Regions from separate parts of the Homo sapiens genome. Here all the other regions are linked to region 1. The links are contacts of gene promoters, found by promoter capture Hi-C in blood cells and fetal thymus (Javierre and others, 2016). All regions are on one chromosome and are shown on one strand. The core of a region is centred on a gene start or on the middle of the fragment in contact, and the rest is flanking DNA. Distances in the headings are between cores, read along the strand shown. Region 1 holds the start of LINC01548 (long intergenic non-protein coding RNA 1548). Region 2 overlaps TMEM50B (transmembrane protein 50B). Region 3 overlaps TMEM50B (transmembrane protein 50B). Region 4 overlaps LOC105377136 (a long non-coding RNA gene). Region 5 overlaps IFNGR2 (interferon gamma receptor 2).

Evidence for each region. The method cuts DNA at HindIII sites, captures the fragments that hold promoters and counts their contacts. A CHiCAGO score of 5 or more calls a contact.
Region 2: a contact is called between a fragment that was not itself captured here and the fragment with the promoter of LINC01548 in region 1, in 1 of 17 cell types (neutrophils). The highest score is 5.4, in neutrophils.
Region 3: a fragment that was not itself captured here is called in contact with the fragment with the promoter of LINC01548 in region 1 in 5 of 17 cell types (neutrophils, monocytes, M0 macrophages and 2 more); the score reaches 6.8 in neutrophils.
Region 4: a contact is called between a fragment that was not itself captured here and the fragment with the promoter of LINC01548 in region 1, in 4 of 17 cell types (M0 macrophages, M1 macrophages, M2 macrophages and 1 more). The highest score is 10.1, in M0 macrophages.
Region 5: a fragment that was not itself captured here is called in contact with the fragment with the promoter of LINC01548 in region 1 in 1 of 17 cell types (neutrophils); the score reaches 6.5 in neutrophils.

Annotation. Positions count from the first base shown.
Region 1 is chr21:33,168,973-33,171,523 of GRCh38, reverse strand. LINC01548 (long intergenic non-protein coding RNA 1548) reads left to right here and starts at 1,288. Exons shown (of 4, transcript NR_024102.1): 1 at 1,288-1,383; 2 at 1,691-1,828. RefSeq lists an enhancer at 2,007-2,076. The HindIII fragment of the contact is 7,514 bases long and covers 1-2,551 here.
Region 2 is chr21:33,471,683-33,474,233 of GRCh38, reverse strand. All of the region lies in intron 1 of TMEM50B (transmembrane protein 50B), which reads left to right. Among named protein-coding and RNA genes, the nearest start is that of TMEM50B, 7.0 kb to the left of the region's middle. The HindIII fragment of the contact is 7,894 bases long and covers 1-2,551 here.
Region 3 is chr21:33,454,188-33,456,738 of GRCh38, reverse strand. TMEM50B (transmembrane protein 50B) reads left to right here. Exons shown (of 7, transcript NM_006134.7): 6 at 955-1,012. Among named protein-coding and RNA genes, the nearest start is that of TMEM50B, 25 kb to the left of the region's middle. The HindIII fragment of the contact is 4,983 bases long and covers 1-2,551 here.
Region 4 is chr21:32,905,145-32,907,695 of GRCh38, reverse strand. The region is part of intron 4 of LOC105377136 (a long non-coding RNA gene); the gene reads right to left. Among named protein-coding and RNA genes, the nearest start is that of LINC01690, 52 kb to the left of the region's middle. The HindIII fragment of the contact is 1,705 bases long and covers 427-2,131 here.
Region 5 is chr21:33,429,171-33,431,721 of GRCh38, reverse strand. The region is part of intron 4 of IFNGR2 (interferon gamma receptor 2); the gene reads right to left. Among named protein-coding and RNA genes, the nearest start is that of IFNGR2, 27 kb to the right of the region's middle. The HindIII fragment of the contact is 9,279 bases long and covers 1-2,551 here.

The DNA of each region.
Region 1 (2,551 bases), core at 39-2,538:
AAGTGCCTTTTCATGGGGCTGTAAGGCAGCTGTCACGAGGTAAATCCCACTCTTTACCCCGCCAGCAGGACAGGTAGGGACAGGTGGGAGGAATACGGGAGGAAACAGCTCCCACTGGTGACTGCCGGACCCTCTCCTCGCTGGCCGCAGACCCTGGAGCCACTTCCCTACCGTATCCAGAGCAGGCCCAGCCCCCGACAAAGGGACCTTTATATGGTGGTCCTGGAATTTTAGTTGGGTTCCCGTAAATGCAGACCCTGACAAGGTCTTGGGCACAGGAGGTTTATCTGAGGGGACTCCAGGAAGCAGGAGTCAGGGAGAAGGAAGCAGGAAACAGAAGTAGACGTCATTACTGAGATTGCTGCTGGAGGCAACAGGGGTCTTGAAGGTAAGAAACATGTCCTTACGGGAGAAGCTGCCTTGGTGGGTTTGGAAAGTGTGAAGAGTTCGCAGGCGTGCTCATCATCAACTAAGTGGACAGGTGAAAGCTGGAGGGGCTCTGCAGAAGCCCTGAGTTGCACTAAAATCTGTACTAATCCAAATAGTGGGTCTAGATTCCCTCTCCTACTCAAAATGACTTTAACTCCTCCAATTTAGCAAATATTGGTTGAACATCTCCTACTGTATTTAATGGAATGTAAGAGATCATTGACTATAAGGCACGCCATTATTTTAAGAGGCTCTAAGAAAAGAGCTTCCAACTCAGCTATGACACTCTATGAAAAGTAAGACTTTCCTAGGTCAGAAGCACAGAAGTGTAAAAAGAATGTTGGTCTCGGGATGGGTACCATGTGCACTGTAGCTTAATGGGCATAGTGGGGCATTGTGACATAGAAACTGCCCTTGCTCCCAGCAGAGGAGAAAAAGCGTGTAAAGCAATGTCAGTGATAACAAGCAAAAATAGGACAGGGGAGAAAGCCAAGAGTCTTCAGACCACAAGAGAAGGAGAGATTAATTCTGGTAGGGAGGTATCAAGGAGGCCTTCCTGGATGAGGGGGTGGCATCTGAGCTGGGCTCAGGAAAAGGTGGGGCTTGAACTATTGGGGATGAAGGGAAAGGCATTCCCGGCAAGTGGGAACAGCACAGGCAAAGGCTCTGAGAGGTCCTAGAAATAAAGTTATTGCACTTCAAGGGGGTTGTAAGATTTATGGGTGAGGATAAGGAAAAAGTAGAGAATTAGAAAAGCAGTGAACTTACCCCTTTACCCAGAAATCCCCCTCCTAAGTGCATGGCCAAGAGAAATTTGCCCTCAAGTGCACCTTTTCCCTTTAGGAAAATCCACCTGGATGGACAGCAGCAGAGGGAGGAGGAGGCAGGACAGACCAGAAGAGAGACAATGAGGTTCTGAACCTAGATGTTGGCCAAGGGAGCAGAGGAGGGCAGGTGAATGGCGCTATAGGGGATACTGTAGCAGGAGGGTTGACTGGACTCAGCAACTGGGGAGGGAGTAGGCAAAAAGAGAGCCTGGGAACTTAGGACAAGAAGCAGGGTATTTTTTTTTTTTCAAGGGAGAGGTAAGCAACAATGATTTACTTGTTCTTACACATGGAACTCTCCAGGGCACTACACCTGCATTTAAATCACTTGGCTCCTGGCACATGGCTCTCCTCCCATTTCTCTTTCTGTCCACTCCCTCTTCATTTGTCCTCTGCCCTCTTCGTATGACTGTTCCTTGGGGCCCTGTCTCCAGGTCAGGAGGCCCTCGCCCTGCAATCACCCTTCCTGGGAGCCTTCACTTCACCTGTGATCTCAAGACCTCTCCCTACTGCCTGACTCGCGCCGAGCTTATGGAACATCTTCCCTTGAGGGTCGCAGTCCATTCGATGAGGTATTTTCCCCATGAAATCCCTTATCTTTGGGAACCTCTTCTTTTCCTTGTGCGTCCTATGTGGGTGGATGGAGAACCACTCTCCACGTGGTTACTCGGTCCAGAAGGGCGGCTGTCTGTACAAATGCGCCTCTTCCTTTCACTTCCTCTATCCAACCAGCTTCTTCTGCCCACCTCCCTTTCATGCTCCTTTCACGCTCCTTTCACATGCTCTTGGCTCACCGTTTTTTTCTTTAAGTTTTTAGAGACAGGGTCTCGCTCTATCACTCAGGCTAGGGTGTGCTGGCACGACCATGGCTCACTGCAGCCTTGACCTCCTGGGCTCAAGCTATCCTCCTGCCTCAGCCTCCTGAGTAGCTGGGACCACAGGCACGCACCACCATGCCTGGCTAATTTTTTATGTTTTGTAGAGACAGGGGTCTCTTTCTTGCCCAAGCTGGTCTTGAACTCCTGGCCTCAAACAATCCTCCTGCCTTGGCTTCCCAAATTGCTGGGATTGCAGGAGTTTGCCACTGCGCCTGACCTGGCTCGCCTTTTTTGCTCCTGGGCGTTGCTCTGACAACCGCAACAAGCTGTCACCTGACAGCTGTGGCAGTGGGTATCTGCTGTGGCAGGCTTTCTGTCCAAGCCTGCGGGGACTTGCTTAGCTATACTGGCTTGTGTGTAAACTTGGAAGCTCAAGGGAGGTGGCTTTCCTTGGGGGAAAACTTTGACCAATAGGGG
Region 2 (2,551 bases), core at 35-2,534, 300 kb before region 1:
GAAACCCTGTCTCTCTTAAAAAAAACAACAACAACCCCCTCCCCTGCCCCCCAAAAAACACAGCTTTGTTGAGATACAGTATATATACTGTAACATTCACCTGTTTTAAGTGTACAGTCGAATGATTTTTAGTATTTACGGAGCTGTGCAGTCATTGCCACAATCTAGTTTTAGAATCTTGTAGCCTTTTGCAGTCACTTTGTATCTTTCTTCTCCCCATCCCTAGACAGCCACTAATCCGCTTTATGTCTATAGATTTGCCTATTCTGGATGTTTCTTGTAAATGGAATCACACAATATATGGTCTTCTGTCTTTTACTTAGTCAGTTGTTGAGGTTCGTTCATGTAGCATCTATCAGTAGGAACCTCTTTCCTTTTTGTTGCTGAATTTGTATTTCGTTGTATGGATGTGCTATGTTTTATTTATCCATTCGTTGATGTATGTTTGGTTGCTTCCACTCCGTGGCAATTACGAATAATGCTGCTATGAACAAGTTATTGTGAAGATATATTTTCATTTCTCTTGGGTAGTTAGATAGGAGTAGAATTGCTGTCACCTTCTTGTTTTTTTTTTTTTTTGAGACAAGGTCTCACTGTGTCACCTGTCATAGCTCACTGTAACCTCGAACTTCTGGGCACAAGTGATCCTTGCATCTCAGCCTCCTGAGTAGCTGAGACTACAAGTGCACACCACCATGCTTGGCTATCCTCATTTTTGGAGAATATTTTTGCTGGGTATAGAATTTGGGATTGAGTTTTTTTTTTTTTTTTTTTTTCTTCCGAGACAGAGTCTCACTTTTTTGCCCAGGCTGGAGTGCAGTGGTGCGATCTCAGCTCACTGCAACCTCCAGCTCCTGGGTTCAAGTGATTCCTGTGCCTCAGCCTCCTGAGTAGCTGGGTCTACAGGTAAGGGCCACCATGCCCAGATAATTTTTGTATTTTTATTAGAGATGGGGTTTCTCCATGTTGCCCAGGCTGGTCTTGAACTCCTGGCCTCAAAGCAGTCTGCCCACCTCAGTCTCCAAAGTGTTGGGATTACAGGCATGAGCCACCACACCTGGCCTGATTTTTTTTGTCTTAAAGCGTTATTAACAGTGTCATTCCTGTGTCTTCTAGTATCCTTTGTTCTGGTTAGAAGTGAGCCATCATTCCTATTGTTCTGTCTCTGTATATGTTGTATTGATTTTTTTCCCCATAAGACTGTTTCAAGAGTTTCTCTGTATCTCTGGTTTTCAGCAGTTTGATTATGATGTTTTCTTTGTATTTATCCTCCTTGGAGTTTGCTGAGCTTTTTGGATTTATAAGTTAATATTTTTCACCAAATTTGAGAAATTTTCATTTATTCTTTTTTTTTTTTGAGATGGAGTTTTGTTCTTGTTTCCCAGGCTGAAATGCAATGAATGGTGTGATCTTGGCTCACTGCAACCTCCGCCTCCCAGGTTCAAGTGATCCTCCTGCCTCAGCCTCCCAAGTAGCTGGGATTACAGGCATGTGCCATCACACCCAGTTTTGTATTTTTAGTAGTGACGGGGTTTCACCATGTTGGCCAGGCTGGTCTCGAACTCCTGACCTCAGGTGATCCACCCGCCTCAGCCTCCCAAAGTGCTGGGATTGCAGGTGTGAGCCACCGTGCCCAGCCCATCTATTATTTTTTTCAAAATTTTTTTATTTCTTATTCTGTCTTTTCTTCTTCTGGGAACTTTAATTACATATATTTTAGACCACTTAGTATTGTTCCTCAGGTCTCTAAATTGGATAATTTCTTTTGATGTTTAAGTTTACTGTCCTTTTCTTCTACTGTATCTAATCTGCGATTAAGTTCATTTAGTTAATTATTTATTTATTTATTTTTTAGATGGAATCTTGCTCTGTTGCCTGACTGGAGTGCAGTGGTGCAATCTCGGCTCACTGCAACCTCCGCCTCCTGGGTTCAGGCAATTCTACTGCCTTAGCCTCCTGAGTAGCTAGGATTACAGGTGCCTGCTACCATGCCCAGCTAAGTTTTTGTATTTTTAGTGGAGACGGGGTTTCACCATGTTGGCCAGGATGGTCTCGATCTCTTGACCTCGTGATCCCCCCGCCTTGGCCTCCCAAAGTGCTGGGATTACATGTGTGAGCCATCCTGCCCGGCCCATTTAATTTTTAAATTCAAACATTGTAATTTGCAGTTCTAGAATTTTCTTTCTTTCTTTTTTTTTTTTTTTAGGGGAGTCTCGCTCTGTTGCCCAGGCTGGAGTGCAGTGGTGCCATCTCGGCTCACTGCAAGCTCTACCTCCCGGGTTCTCGCCATTCTGCCTCAGCCTCCTGAGTAGCTGGGACTACAGGCGCCTGCCACCATGCCTGGCTAATTTTTTGTATTTTTAGTAGAGACGGGGTTTCACCATGTTAGTCAGGATGGTCTCGATCTCCTGACCTCGTGATCCGCCTGCCTCGGCCTCCCAAAGTGCTGGGATTACAGGCATGAGCCACTGCGCCCAGCCCCTAGAATTTTCATTTGAATCTTTTTACATTTTAATTTATTTTTTAGAGACAGGGTCTTGCTATGTTGCCT
Region 3 (2,551 bases), core at 32-2,531, 290 kb before region 1:
AGGAAATGAAGATATGCTGAGGTTAAATAATTTGCCCAAGGTCATACAGTTAGTCATTGGTATAGATAGGATTCAAACCTGGGTCTGGCTCAAACTTGGAGCTCTTAACCATGCTGCTGTATTGTTTGCTATGATATCAAGAGCTCAGAATTGAACCAGTTTCTTCATCTTCTCCAGTATTTTTTAAATCAACATTTGTAGTTTTACAAAAGTTAATAATCCACAAAAATTTAAGTAGTTTCCATTTTGTTTCTTTTCTTTTCCTATAAAGATAGTAACCATTTCCTCCAGGATAGATTCAGTGAAAGAGAATGATAAATTCTAACTGTGTTATTTATATCTGACATATTTGCATGATAAAACTCCTGGATTGAGAGCCAGGCATTGTGGTGTGTGCCTGTAGTCCCATCCACTTGGGACGCTGAGGCAGGAGGATCACTTGAGCCCAGGAGTTTGGGCTGTAGTTTGCTATGATTGTGCCTGTCAGTAGCTGCTGCACTCCAGTCTGGGCAATATAGTGAGGCCCCATTTCTTTAAAAACAAACACAAAAAACCTCTTGAATTCATGAAAGAAAATAAATTAACAGACTGTTTAAAAGTCAAGAATTTATTTTGTATGTTTTTACGATTTTGCATTTCAGTGTTGGCCATAGGAGGCAAAGGAGCAAGTTACTGCTTCCTCAGCAGTTTTGATGTAGCTAGAACCAGCAATTACTTTGACTAAAAGAAAACTTTGTAAGTTCATTGACTTTTATCCAGAGTAAGAGCAGTCCTTTGCTTTGGGGGAATTAAATTGGCATTTTCTTCTTTCAGTTTCATTATAGATGTCTTACAGTTAATGAATAATAGCAGTATGTTGTAATATACAAAATGTATCATTATGAATGGCACTGATACTTTATTACTGCCGTTTGCCTATATAACCGTCTAATCTGTTTTACTTTGTGTATGTAGATACTGATGTTTATCCGGGACTAGCTGTGTTTTTTCAAAATGCACTTATATTTTTTAGGTAAGTTGCCTTATTTTTTAACCACGCCTGTAACATTTACAGAAATGTCAACTTAATTAAGGCAGCATATATATGGAACACATATAAATCCCATGGATTGGTTACAATGATAGAACTTCTTTTAAAAGGTGAGAATTCCACTGTTACATAAGAGCAGAGAGGCCTTTTAACTAGAGGTCTTGCTGTGTATCAAGACTTTAGCTGGATCCTTTATATATTTTACCCTTTGAATTCACATTTAGGCCAAGTGCTGTGGCTCATGCCTGTAATCCCAGCACTTTGGGAGGCTGAAGTGGGTGGATTGCTTAAGTCTAGGAGTTTAAGACCAGCCTGGGCAACATGGCAAAACCCTGTCTCTATAAAAAAATATAAAAATTATCTGGTTGTGGTGGTGTACAGTGCCAGCTACTCAAGAGGCTGAGGTGGGAGGATTGCTTGAGCCGAGGAGGTTGAGGCTGCAGTGAGGCAAGGCTGCACCACTGTACTCCAGCCTGGGCAATAGAGTGAGACCAAAATAAAATAAAATAATGCATTTAATTATTTTAAATATATGTCAGGTGTTATTCCCATTTTATTTATTTTTATTTTTATTTATTTATTTATTTTTTGCGAGGGAGTCTCACCCTGTAGCCCAAGCTGCCTTAGTGCAGTGGAACAATCTCGGCTCACTGCAGCCTCCGCCTCGGGACTCAGGCGATTCCCATGCCTCAGCCTCCCGAGTAGGTGGGACTACAGGTGCACACCACCACACCCAGCTAATTTTTTGTATTTTAGTAGAGACGAGGTTTCACCATATTGCCCAGAGTGGTCTCGAACTCCTGAGCTCAGACAATTTGCCTGCCTCGGCCTCCCAAAGTGCTGGGATTATAGCCACCACACCCAGTGTTATTCCCATTTTATAGATGAGGAAATAAAGTTTAGGGCTTGCTTTAGGATGCCTAGCTAGTAAATGAGAAGCCTGGATTTGAATCCAGACTGCTGCTTCCATAGCCTGTGTCTTATTAAAAAACCCTATCAGACCCATTGTTTCACTTGACTAGCCTTTCGGGAAAAAAAAAATTAACAACAACAGGTAAAGTACCTTTATGAAGAAAAAAGGAAAAACCAGAATTAATACCTAGTGGCCAGCCAGGTGTGGTGGCTCATGTCTGTAATCCCAGCACTTTGGGAGGCTGAAGTGGGTGGATCATCTGAGGTCAGGGGTTCGAGACCAGCCTGGCCAACATGGTGAAACCCCATCTCTAATAAAAATACAAACATTAGTCGGGCATGGTGGTGTGTGCCTGTAATCCCAGCTACTCGGAAGGCTGAGGCAGGAGAACCACTTGAACCCAGGAGACACGGGGGTTGGAGTGAGTCGAGATAGTGCCACTGCATTTCAGCTTGGGTGACAGAGCAAGACTCCATATCAAAATAATAATAATAATTAATACATAGTATGCATATTATATACAAAACCTGTTGGGAAATTCTGTTTTCTGAATGCCCTTTTAAGAAAAGTTAAAGTAAGTGGAAAAATAAACCAATATTAAAAGTATT
Region 4 (2,551 bases), core at 30-2,529, 260 kb after region 1:
TTCAACACTTACCAGCAAGCCACTAGTTGCTCATCTATTTGCATTGCCCCGTAATACCTATCTTGCCAAGGGGAAATGGCACACAGGTAATCCGTGGCACACTGTGATGTGTTATTACTCAAATTATGAACAGTGCTGGCATGAGATAAAGTTCAAGTTGAGGGCAAAGTGTAAAGAGACTTTGATCCTATAGTGATTCTAAACATTTGGGAGCCAGCTGGCTTCTGATGGTCCTATGGCACATGCTTTGGGGAATGGGGGCTAAGTGAGGACGCAGCAAAGAAGGTAGCCATCTGCAAGCCCACCACTGGGCTCCTGCCTATTCACTCATTGTTACTCAGGGAATCCTCATTAGTTTCTTTTGCTCTGCAAGCTTACACTTAAATTCAACATCTGAGCTGAGGTCATAGCCTAGGCCAGAAAGCTTGAAAATCAGGCGGTGAGGAAGGCTGAGGATGAGGTGCTGATATCTATGCAGATCCAGGAAGCAATCAGGAAAGGTGGCCAGAGGTGTAGATCCAGTCCAATCCATGGTGAGTGACTGACGGATTGGTTAGCCAGTCAGTGACTTGGAACAAGACTTGAAAATTGATGATAAAGAGGTCTGGGAGTATGTGGATGGATCTCTTAGAATGGGCATGGATATTCATGCCTTCTTCACTACAGGGCATTCACTGTGGAGGAGGTTCTCAAAAATCAGGTGGTGTTATGGACTGAATTGTGTCTAACCCCGCCCCCCAAATTCACATGTTGAAGCCCTAACTCTTCAATGTGACTATATTCAGAGATGGGGCCTTTAAGGTGGTAATTAAGGTTAAATGAGGTCATAAGAGTGTGGCCCTAATCTGGTAGGACTGGTGTCCTGATAAGAAAAGGAAAAGACACCAGAGAGCTCTTTCTCTGCACACACAGAAAAGAGGATAAGTGAGGACACAGCAAAGAAGGTAGCCATCTGCAAGTAACGAATAGAGTCCTCACCAGAAATTAACCTTGCTGACACCTTGATCTTGGACTTCCAGCCTCCAGAACTTTGAGAAACTAAATGTCTATGGTTTAAGCTAACCAGTCAGTGGTATCTCGCTACAGCAGCTTGAGCAGAATAATTGAGGTGGTTAAGTTGACCTGTCCTGTAGAGGTTGACTAACCATGTGGCTCACTCAATGGGCTCAGATACAAAGTGGCCATATGGCAGGGGTGGAGGTTTATACATGGGTTCATCACTATGGACTTTTCCTCGCCAGGGCTGATTTAGCTACAGCTATTGATGAGTTTCCAATTTGTCAACAGCAGAGACTGTATCTGAGCCTCTAAGCTGTTACTATTTCCCAGGGATACCAGCAAGTTGATTATATTGAACCCTGTATTAATGGGAGTTCTCCAGAGAAACTTAACCAATAGAAGAGAGAGAAAGAGATTTATTTTAAGGAATTGGCTCACGAAACTGTGGAAACTGGCAAGTCCAAAATCTGAACCTATGTAAGAGTTGATGCTGCAGTATTGAGTATGAATTCCATAGGGCAGCAGGCTGGAAACTCCTTCTTCCTCAGGAAACCTCAGTCTTTGCTCTTAAGGCCTTCAGTGGACTGGATGAAGCCAACATGCATCACGGAGAACAATCTGCTTTAATAAAGTCCATGGATTTAAATACCAGTCGTATCTAAAATATCTTCTCACCGGAACATCTAGTCCGGTGCTTGACCAAACAATTGGCCACCATGTCCCAGCCAAGCTGACACATGAAAGTAACCCCCACAGGGCCCTTCCATCATGAAGGTGGTAGAACTTATTCTTCACAGAGATAGATATATCTCTGATACAGATTTGCCTTCCCTATTGATATAGTTTGGATGTTTGTCCCCTCCAAATCTCATGTTAAAATGTGATCTCAATGTTGAAGGTGGGGCCTAGTGGGACGTGTTTTGGTCACGAGGCAGATCCTCATGAATGGTTTGGTGCCCTCCCTGAGGTAAGGAGTGCACTCTTGCTCTTTTAGTTCACGTGAGATCTGATTGTTTAAAAGAGCCTAGCATCATTCTCTCTCTCCCTCTCTCTCTCTCTCTCTCACCCCCCCACCCTTTCCCAGCCTGTGACACACTGGCTCACTTTCCACCTTCTACCATGAGTAAAAGCTTCCTGAGGCCTCACCAGAAGCAGATGCTGGTGCCATGCCTCTTGTACAGTCTGCAAAACCATAAGCCAAATAAACCTCTTTTTAAAAATAAATTACCCAGCCTCAAGTATTCCTTTATAGCAACACAAAATGGACTAACATGCCTATTCATAATGCTTTGATCAGTACCACTATTCCCGCACTTGCAGAATTCCTCCATCATTGCCATAGTATCCTATATTATCACCTCTGATCAGGTGACATATTTTAGGGCAAAGGAAGTGTGGCAATGAACTCATGCCCAGATTAACCCAAAGGGCCACATCACCCAGAAACTTCTGGTTTAATAAAAAGTGGAGTGGCCTGAGGATGGCTCGGGTATAGTTCTAGGTGGGAGACAAGATGCTGGGAGGTCAGAGAGCTGTCTACCTCTGCCCCATG
Region 5 (2,551 bases), core at 36-2,535, 260 kb before region 1:
GCACACACCTGTAATCCCAGCTACATGGGAGGCTGAGGGAGGAGAATCACTTGGACCAGGAGGCAGAGGGTGCAGTGAGCTGAGATTGCGCCAGCCTGGATGAAGAGCAAGACTCCATCTCAAAACAAACATTTTGTATTTCTTTTTTTTTTTGAGATGGAGTTTCGCTCTGTCACCAGGCTGGACCGCAATGGTGCGACCTCGGCTCACTGCAACCTCCGCCTCCCAGGTTCAAGCAATTCTCCTGCCTCCAACTCCTGAGTAGTTGGGATTATAGACACCCACCATCATGTCTGGCTCATTTTTGTATTTTTAGTAGAAACAGGGTTTCACCATGTTGCCCAGGCTGGTCTCGAGCTCCTGATCTCAGGTGATCCACCTGCCTCGGCCTCCCAAAGTGCTGGGATTATAGGCGTGAGCCACCGCGCCTGGCCAACATTTTGTATCTCACGGTTAATCTAGATACCTCAAGTTAGTCAACAGAGAAAAAATTATTCTGGGAAATAATGTTCCTTTCATTCCCAACCTGCTTCTAGTTTGACCGAAATGTGCTTGAGCCTCCTATAGTTTCAGCTAAAATGACCTTAAGGATTTATGTCATCAGGAGACAACTGGACCCTAGACTCTAGGAAGGTTCTGTGTCTCCTCTGCGCATCCCTCTGCTGCCTTGAGCAGGCCTTGCTGCCTCCCCACCTGGTCTTCCAGGCAATGGCTCCTGTTGTCCTGGCAAGGCTGTCATTGTCCCATACCAAAGTGGAAAACAGCGATACCCTATTATGGCAGTATAGGGTTTCTTGCAAAGAACTGTTTTCTAATTTTGAGATACAATATAATCCACTACAGCCACATGAAATGGTGGTATAACATATGCTTGAAAACATGGGAAGACAAGGCTGCTAAATTGTTAACTGAAAAAAGGCAGATTATTCAAATACAGAACATGTTGTTATTTTTTAAAATACAAAAATAGGCCAGGCATGGTGGCTCATGCCTGTAATTCCAGCACTTTGGGAGGCTGAGGTGGGAGGATCACTTGAGTCCAGGAGTTTGAGCTTGGGTAACATAGTGAGACCCCCTCCCTCCGTCTCTACAGAAAATAATAATAAAAAAATAAGCTGGTCATGGTGGTGCATGCCTATAAGTCCCAGCTACTCGGAAGGCCAAAGTGGGAGGATGGCTTGAGCCTGTGAATTGGAGGCTACAGTGAGCTATGACTGCACCACTGCACTCCAGCCTGGGTGACAGAGTGAAATTGTCTCTGAAAAATTAAAATTAAAAAATAAAAATATAAAAGTAATTGTATGATCTATGAATAATAGTATTACTTGATGGTTTTACATTTTCTTTTCTTCTGTTTAATGGTGTTGGACTGCCAGGGCAGAGGAAGACACGATTTTAAGGACAAAAATTCCCTTTGGGTTTATTTCAGCATTCAATTGGAATTCCTAAAATTTAGAGTCACAGACTGCAGAAGAGCTAACGTAACAGGCCTAACACTAATGCCCTTTGAAGGGCCTGATTTCCAGGTCAACCCTTAGCTGACATCTGGGAATTTGTGTGCGTTTTTTGTTTGTTTGTTTTTTGAGACGGAGTCTTGCTCCGTTGCCCAGGCTGGAGTGCAGTAGTGTGATCTCGACTCACTGCAACCTCTGCCTCCCAGGTTCAAGCAATTCTCCTGCCTCAGCCTCCTGAGTAACTGGGATCACAGGTGCCCACCACCACGCCTGGCTAATTTTTGTATTTTTAGTAGAGATGGGTTTTCACCATGCTAGCCAGGCCTGTCTCGAACCCCTGACCTCAAGTGATCTGCCTGCCTCGGCCTCCCAAAGTGCTGGGATTACAGGCGTAAGCCACCGCGCCCAGCCTGGGAATTTGGATTTCAAGTTTATCCCTCCCATTCCCAAACTGGTAAGGTGGCTTACCGTCCCTACACTGTTTGCACAATGTGTTTTCTTTATGAGGAACATCTGTTTTCCTTCTGGGAGTCGGAATTTTGGCATACGCTACACAGAGGGTGCGTATGTGGCCAGCCCCCAGAAAAAGCCCTGGGCGCTGGGTCTCTCATAAGCCTCCCTGGCAGACAACAGTTCACATGTGCAGTCACAGCTTGCTGGTGGAGCAATGAAGTGTATCCTGCGTGACTCAGCTCAGGAAGGGCTCCTGGAAGCCTACCCCTGGACACCTGCGGACTTTCCTCCATGTGCCTCTTCCCTTTGCCGATTTTGCTTTGCATCCTTTTGCTATAAAAAATCAGAGTATGGGCCAGGCACAGATGTGGAGGCTGAGACAGGAAAATCTCTTGAACCCGTGAGCCGAGATTGTGGCACTGCACTCTACCCTGGGAGACAGAGTGAAATTCTGTCTCAAAACGAAATCAGAGTGTGACTCTGTGCTGAGTCCTGGGAGTCCTTTGAGCGATCTAGGGTGGGTCTTGGGGACCCTAACACACAGACTCACAGCTGGAACAAAGATCACATTGGTGGCTTTCAGAGTCATTTTCATCCTTGAACCTTTTGATCATGGAAGCCAAGTACAGATGCTCTGGTCAAAT